Regions from separate parts of the Homo sapiens genome. Here region 2 is linked to region 1. Evidence: promoter capture Hi-C in 16 types of primary human blood cells and fetal thymus (Javierre and others, 2016). All regions are on one chromosome and are shown on one strand. The core of a region is centred on a gene start or on the middle of the fragment in contact, and the rest is flanking DNA. Distances in the headings are between cores, read along the strand shown. Region 1 holds the start of PPP1R36 (protein phosphatase 1 regulatory subunit 36). Region 2 has its middle 48 kb from the start of PLEKHG3.

What was found. The method cuts DNA at HindIII sites, captures the fragments that hold promoters and counts their contacts. A CHiCAGO score of 5 or more calls a contact.
Region 2: a fragment that was not itself captured here is called in contact with the fragment with the promoter of PPP1R36 in region 1 in 1 of 17 cell types (megakaryocytes); the score reaches 6.5 in megakaryocytes.

Annotation. Positions count from the first base shown.
Region 1 is chr14:64,547,874-64,551,523 of GRCh38, reverse strand. It overlaps PPP1R36 (protein phosphatase 1 regulatory subunit 36), which reads right to left and starts at 1,563. Exons shown (of 12, transcript NM_172365.3): 1 at 1,458-1,563; 2 at 539-603. The coding sequence starts at 1,526. RefSeq lists a silencer at 1,408-1,697. The HindIII fragment of the contact is 10,629 bases long and covers 1-3,650 here.
Region 2 is chr14:64,654,027-64,657,820 of GRCh38, reverse strand. No RefSeq gene overlaps it. Among named protein-coding and RNA genes, the nearest start is that of PLEKHG3, 48 kb to the left of the region's middle. The HindIII fragment of the contact is 2,675 bases long and covers 761-3,435 here.

The DNA of each region.
Region 1 (3,650 bases), core at 314-2,813:
TTTAGCTATACACTTGTAAGAGTCAGTGTCTTTTTTCATAGAGATTAGAATCAGTTTTTTCTAATTTAGTAATTTTACCTTGTGAGATTCACCATCTATTGCAGCAGATATAATATGTTCCCATTAATGTTAACTATATTTCTCTAACTCAAAAAGGCAATTTTATAATTAAAAACATGGACTCTGTAAATCAAACAGACCTACATTTAAATAATCTTAGTCACCTCTGAGCTGTGTGATTGGGCTAAGTCACTTAATTTTCCTCAAGTCGCTGAACCCTTTGAAACCTCAGTTTCTTCATCTGTAAATTGGTTAACATGCAGCTGTTTCAAAGAGTTGGTAAACATTAGCACAGTGTCTGGTCCATGTGAAGCAGCTGGTAAGCGTTCAGAGAAAGGCTGTTCACTGAAATGATTGTTTCCTTCCAGATGGCAAAGGTTCAGTGGGTATTTATTCTCTATACTCTTCTGTTGCTTTTTTTTCCCCCAGGCACATGTAATTTTTATAAAAACTCTAATAAAGTGTTGTTAAATTTTACCTTCTGAATTCAAGAGTTCTGGTTTCATCTTTCCAGTACCACATCCCTAATCGTAATCCCAACTGCTGTAAAACGAAATGATTGCAGCAAAAATAATTAAAAGCTCAATTTACAATCCATATGCCACAATAAACCTTTAACAATAATTCCTACTTACTAACACATCTTTTAAGTAATAAGAAGGAAACAAAAAACAATGGTTCCTACTAGTCCCTCTTTACACTTTCAGTAAGAGTGTAGAATCCTAAAGCGTTAAACTTGAAGCTAGGATTTTATCGCTTTGATTGATTTTAGGTGTGGCTTCAGTAGAACGGCAGGAAGGAGGGAGAGGGAGAAAGGAAGGGAGGAAAGTAGGAAAAGAGGAAAGAAGCAGCGGAGGAAGGGAAGGGCGAAAGATAGGAAGGAAATTGGGACTACATATAGCTCATCATAGCAATCTACCAATTAATTGAAATTCAGACAATAAACTGATACCCAGGACAGCCTCAGCTGTCTGGTTCTGGAGACTTCCGGGCTCCAACACTGAGCCTGCCCTTTACAGGCAGTGGCAAAAAGTTAAGTACACCCTTTTCACCGTGGAAGCTAGCACCCACCAGCCTTTCTATCCAGAGCGGGGCTGCTTCCCCCGCAGTAGGTCTCCCTATTTTGCAACCAACCAATTAGAGGTGGTGAGGTGGGATTTCGTAAATATCTAACTACCTGCGCAGGGAGCCAGAATTCAATTCTGACCATCTGTCAAATACACCAGAGTTTTTTTTTTTTCTAGGCAAATATGGCCAGGTGTCTTTGAGAACCGCCAGCCCGGGGCGAAGGCGACGACCCGCCTCTGGAGGAGGGCGAGGGGCGCGGCGCCGGTTGGGGGCAGCAGGGCCCGCCTTGCGCCCAGCCCGGGTATGGGGGCGACCAAGGCTGCACTTACATCCATCAAGTAAGGGGTCTGCCCACCTAACCGCTTCCTCCTCGCATAAAACTCGGGCACCCGGTACATGGCCTCGCCCTGGAAGCCATACGGCGTCGCCGAGGATACCGCCCGCAGGCGCCTGCACACGGCTGCCCGGGGCGCGGAGCGGGGCGGGGCGTCGCTTCCGTCCTAGGCCGCGCGGGCTGCGGCCGCACCCAGGCTTCTCCAGCGATTTCTAAAGCCCAGCCTGGTGCCCCGTTTCCCAGTCTTAAAAGCCGTGGCGACGTATTGGCCTATCCATTGTAAAGCCGCCCAGGGCATAATTCTTCATGGCATTCCAACCTTGAACTTCATGAAGTTATTCACTTTACTGTTTTAATTGGAGTAACTACATTCAGTCCTATAGGGAAGAAAGATCCATTTCTTCCTAACTTTCATGATTAGCACTATTATTAAGTTCAAATCCAGGATGAACCTAGGTTGATGGGGAGAGCAGGGTTGAGGTGGGGAAGCAGGGTAGCCTCGTGGAAGAGAACATGGGTACGGAAATAAGGTTTTCATAACAGTTGTGCTGCTTAACAAGCTGTGGAATCTAGGACAAGACTATTCTGATCTTTCTTCTGAAAACACCAAATCAGGGGTTATGTGGATTTTTGGAGTGGTGTGTGTAAAGCACCAGTCTTAAGTACTCAAAATTAGTGTTGCTCAAAAACAAAGAAACTTGCTTAGTGTCAATGGGTATTCAATTGATATTTTTACATTTACACTTTTCAAATCATGTGTCTTGTAATTCCTTCTTGCAACGGAGTTGATAATGCTGATTCTGGCTGATTTTTTTCCTCCCAGCTCTAAGTGAGCAATGCTAGATGATGCAACATGATTGGGAATGCCTAGTATATTCTTTTGTATCACCACAGCTTAATTGGTATGAGAGGCTCATAAGTAGTGGATATATACTCCCATTAACTTTTAAGTTATGTCAGTAGTCATCCCACTGCTTCTTCTATTCCCACCCTCCCAGTCTCACTACTTGGTAATACACAATCACTGGCTACAGTGATTAAATAGTAATCATCTAGATTCATGTTCTGCTCACTTGAGTCCATTCTGGCAGCTGTTCAGTTGGTCCAGGTATATGGAAACCCACTTATATACTGGCCGCAGGCAAGGCTTTCTTACTACAAGATGACACGCTTGAAAAGGAGACTATCCCATATGCCAAGAGCTTTTCACCAAGTAGCGAACATAACTTGGGGTGGACAGGACAGGGAAATAATGAGGTAAAGCTCAAGAAAAGATGCAGACAGACCAAGGAATCTGGATGGCATCCAATCACTACATAATCATTACCGGGAAGACCACACTAGTGGTCAGTAAACCTCTTCAGTTCATCCCAATAATGTGTGGAGAAGTGCTGATAGAAAACTTAAGATCTATATATCTTATCACAGAATAAACTTAGGCTGTCTAATGTACAAAACTTAGGTAAAAATAAAAGTTGAGAGCCCAAAACAATAACTACTTAAAAATTAAAGGAGAAGTTATTTCGCATGTGATAGAGGGACATAATATTTAAAGGAAAGTTTCAGTAACTCTGAAGGGACAATCTTATACTTCTCTATCACTTTACCCCAAACAAAAGGAGGAAGAAAAGATTGTTTTTACATCTCTTAATCATTACAGTACTTATTTTAAAAAGTGACCCACCGATTTCCTAAGGTACATTTTTCACCAGTTAGGTTTCTTTTTAAATGACATTAGAAACTCACAACCAAAACTGGAAATATGATTGTCCCTGTAAAGAAGAATAAACACAATTGATGATATTTAGTAGGGATGAAGGTAACTTCTAAATATTTGATAACTCCAAGTGTCCTGTGAGGGAATTTTTTTTTTTCCTAATTAAGAGAAACTTAAGGTCATATAACTATCTAAGAGCATATAATATATAACTAAATTGCTGGTCCCAGATTTTAGGTCCAAGACATTAACTGAATATAATTCATGCTAATTCTATAAAAAAGATAATGGACAGGTTTGTTTTTTTGTTTGTTTGTTTTGAGACGGAGTCTCGCTCTGTCGCCCCGGCTGGAGTGCAGTGGCATGATCTCGGCTCACTGCAAACTCCGCCTCCCGGGTTCACGCCATTCTGCCTCAGTCTCCTGAGTAGCTGGGACTACAGGAGCCCCCACCACGCCCGGCTTATTTTTT
Region 2 (3,794 bases), core at 849-3,348, 110 kb before region 1:
CATTTATTATTAGAATAATCGTTTTTCTGATTTGAAAAAAGGTAAGACATGGATTGAAATAGAGTCACAGGGTCGGGCATGGTGGCTCACTCCTGTAATCCCAGCACTTTGGAAGGCTGAAGTGGGCGGATCGCTTGAGGTAAGGAGTTCGAGACCAGCCTGGCCAACATGGTGAACTCCCATCTCTACTAAAAATAGAAAAATTAGCCGGTTGTGGTAGGGCGGGCACCTGTAGTCGCAACTACTCAGGAGGCTGAGGCAGGAGAGATGCTTGAACGGGGAGGGGGGTGCAAGGGGGTGCGGGGGGCGGGAGTTGAGGGGTGCGGGGGCGGGGGGCGCTAGCGGAGGAGCCAAGATGGCGCCACTGTACTCCAGCCTGGGCGACAGAGTGAGACTCTGTCTCAAAAAAAAAAAAAACCACACAAAAACATAGAGCCACAGCCTCTCAGGAGCAAACTGAGTTTCTGATTAATTTCAGGAGCCTGGAGATAGAAAATCTGTTAGGGGAAAAGTTACTCCCTGCATTTGGTATTTGGTTCCCTCTTGCCTTTCTGGCTGTCTCTGCCTCTTTCATAAATCCAAAGCCTCCTGGAGTCTTCCCAAACTCGCCCAACTGCTGACACACAGATGCAAACACGTGCAATTCAGCCCTTCATGATTTCCAGTCAGATTTCGTTATTAAGCAACTATTTCCTTGCTCATTTTCTCACCTTTCTCTTTCACATTACAGAGAGCCAATTTACACACACACACAAAAGCTTTCGACAGAAGCACAAAAAACAGCCTACTTAAATGTTTTATTGTGGTAACATACATAATATTTATCATTTTAACCTTCACAATTCAATGGCATTAAATACATTCACAATGTTGTATAACCATCACCACTATGTATACCAAAACCTTTTTCATTATTTTTAACAAAAATTCTGTACCCATTAAATAATAACTTCTCTTTTGGCCCTTCCTCCAGCCCATGGTAACCTCTATTCTATTTTTTTTTCTACAAGCAGACGCCACTACGTCTGCCTAATTTTTTGTATTTTTGTAGAGACAGGGTTTCGCCATGTTGCCCAGGCTGGTCTCAAATTCCTGGGCTCAAGCCATCTGCCTGCCTCGGTCTCCCAAGGTGCTGGGATTACAGGGATGAGCCACCACGTCCCACTTTCTATCTTCTTTTCTTTTCTTTTCCTTTTTTCTTTTCTTTTCTTTTTTTTTTTGAGACGGGATTTTGTTCTTGTTGCCCATGCTGGAGTGCAATGGCACGATCTCAGCTCACTACAACCTCCACCTCCTGGGTTCAAGCAATTCTCCTGCCTCAGCCTCCCAAGTAGCTGTGATTACAGGCACGTGCCACCATGCACAGCTAATTTTTTGTATTTTTTGTAGAGATAGGGTTTCACCATATTGGCCAGGCTGGTCTGGAACTCCTGACCTCAAGTTATCCACCTGCCTCGGCCTCCCAAAGTGTTGGGATTACAGGTGTAAGCCACAGCACCCGGCCTTCTATCTTATTTTCTGCCTTACGAATTGGCCTATTCTGGGTACCTGATATAAGTGGGAATCATATAATATTTGTTTTTCTTTGTCTGGATTATTTCACTAAGCATAATGTTTTCAATGTCTATCAATATTTTAGCATATATCAATATTGCATTTCTTTTTTATGGCTGAATACTATTTCATTGTATGAATATAGCACATTTTGTTTATTCATCTGTTGAGGGACATTTGGGTGGTTTCTGCCTTTTGGCTATTGTGAATAATGCTGCTATGAACATTGTGTACAAATATCTGTTCAGGTCCCTGCTTTCAGTTCTCTTGGGTATATACCAAGAAGTGGGATTGCCAGGTCATACAATAGTTCTATGATTAGCCTACAAAAACAACTCACTTTGGAGGATTAAAAAAAAGAATAGCTTTATACTCTCACTTTATTTCATATCTTATGAAATCTTTTTGAGGTGCTTAGAAAAATACACACCATAAAAAGAGATAAAGAGTTAAAGGGGCCGGGCGCGGTGGCTCAAGCCCGTAATCCCATCACTTTGGGAGGCCGAGGCGAGCAGATCACGACGTCAGGAGATCAAGACCATCCTGGCTAACACGGTGAAACCCCGTCTCTACTAAAAATACAAAAAATTAGCCGGGCGTGGTGGCGGGCGCCTGTAGTCCCAGCTACTCAGGAAGCTGAGGCAGGAGAATGGTGTGAACCTGGGAGGCGGAGCTTGCAGTGAGCCGAGATCATGCCACTGCACTCCAGCCTGGGCAACAGAGCAAGACTCTATCTCAAAAAAAAGAAAAAAAAAAAGTTAAAGGAATTGGGGCAAAGGGAAAATAAGGGTAAGAGCTTCCCAGTTAGTGCTTGGGCAGGGCAGATCAGCTCCATCAGAAAACAAGCGCTTGGGGCACACTGCTAGCACTTTCAAAAGGCAGCTTCCAATGCAGATGATTCCAATTCTACACCTTGGCCAAGCTGCCTCTCCAAATGGAGCAGGGCACGTGGGCTTCACTGTATACGCAGACCACGTGGAAGCTGACACCATAACCTTACCCACCGCAGGCTTCTCATGCACTCACAAACCTTCAGCTGGGCCGGTCCTTAGAATTATCTAGGGCAACCCTCTTGATTTCCAGATGACGAAAGTAAGGCTCAAAGAGGTTAAGTGTCCTGCGGAGACACACAGAGCATGTAAGTAGCAGAGCTGATTCACACCCATGTGTCCCACCGACAGCCTAGTTTCTCCGGGTTACCACACCGCCTCTCATTGCCGTAAGTCAGCTTCCCTTTACTTATTTGGGAAACGTATGGGCTGTATGAAATCATTATGTTCTCATTCTTTTTAAACTGTTCCAGTAGTTATGCAGTTTCAAGGTTCTGAAGGCTAAAAGTACTATTATGTGGTATTAAACAAGGTAGACATTAACTGTGACACGGGAGGGATGTCACAAATCCCATTGCTGAAGCTGAAGCTGTGTTACTTATTTTAGAAAACTTTCCATTAGTTGACTTCCCAAATAGAAGTGTTGCTTCCTGGTTTCCCTTGGTGATTTTTTAAATTGTGCTTAAACATGAGTGTCCAGTTGAGACTACATGCAATTCCAGCATAACCAGGCTTGGTAATGACCAGAGCTATTAACCTGTGATGGACCTTGTATCAGCCAAATATTTACCTAGCTCATGCTCACAACAGGTTGGTGGGACAGATCCAACGGCTCCTACTTCAGCTGGGTTTCCGTTTGGATCTTAATGTGAACACAGCTGCTTGGTTTTATTTATGTACATAGATTTTTCTGACATATTTCATCCTTTCCTAAACCAACTACCCTCGGAGACATTGCAACTTGCTCTCTTGCCTCCATGAGTCACCTAAAAACACACTGGTGGTTTCCAGGACTTCCTCAATGTCTTTCTAGCTGTGTCTGGTGTAAGCTTATGGGCTTTCCCTGGCACAAGTTTGACAGATCTACTCACTCATCTTTAATTCAGTTCTACAAACACTGCAGATGTGGTAGAGGATGGTCGTGGGCTCTAGAACAAAACAGCCCTGGTCTAAATCTCAGCTCTTACTTCATAACCTCCAGCAAGTTACTCAACCTCTTCATGCCCCATTTTGTAATCTAAAAAATGGAAATGATAATATAACCAACCGCATTAGGTGATTATGAGAATTAAGAGTTACTATGCGTATCAGCCCTGGAAGAGTGTCTGACACATGTTGTGAATGCTCAGTACATTACTGACAAAATTCCTGCCTACTCCAAGTCAGGCATTGCCAGGCTTTGGGGATATA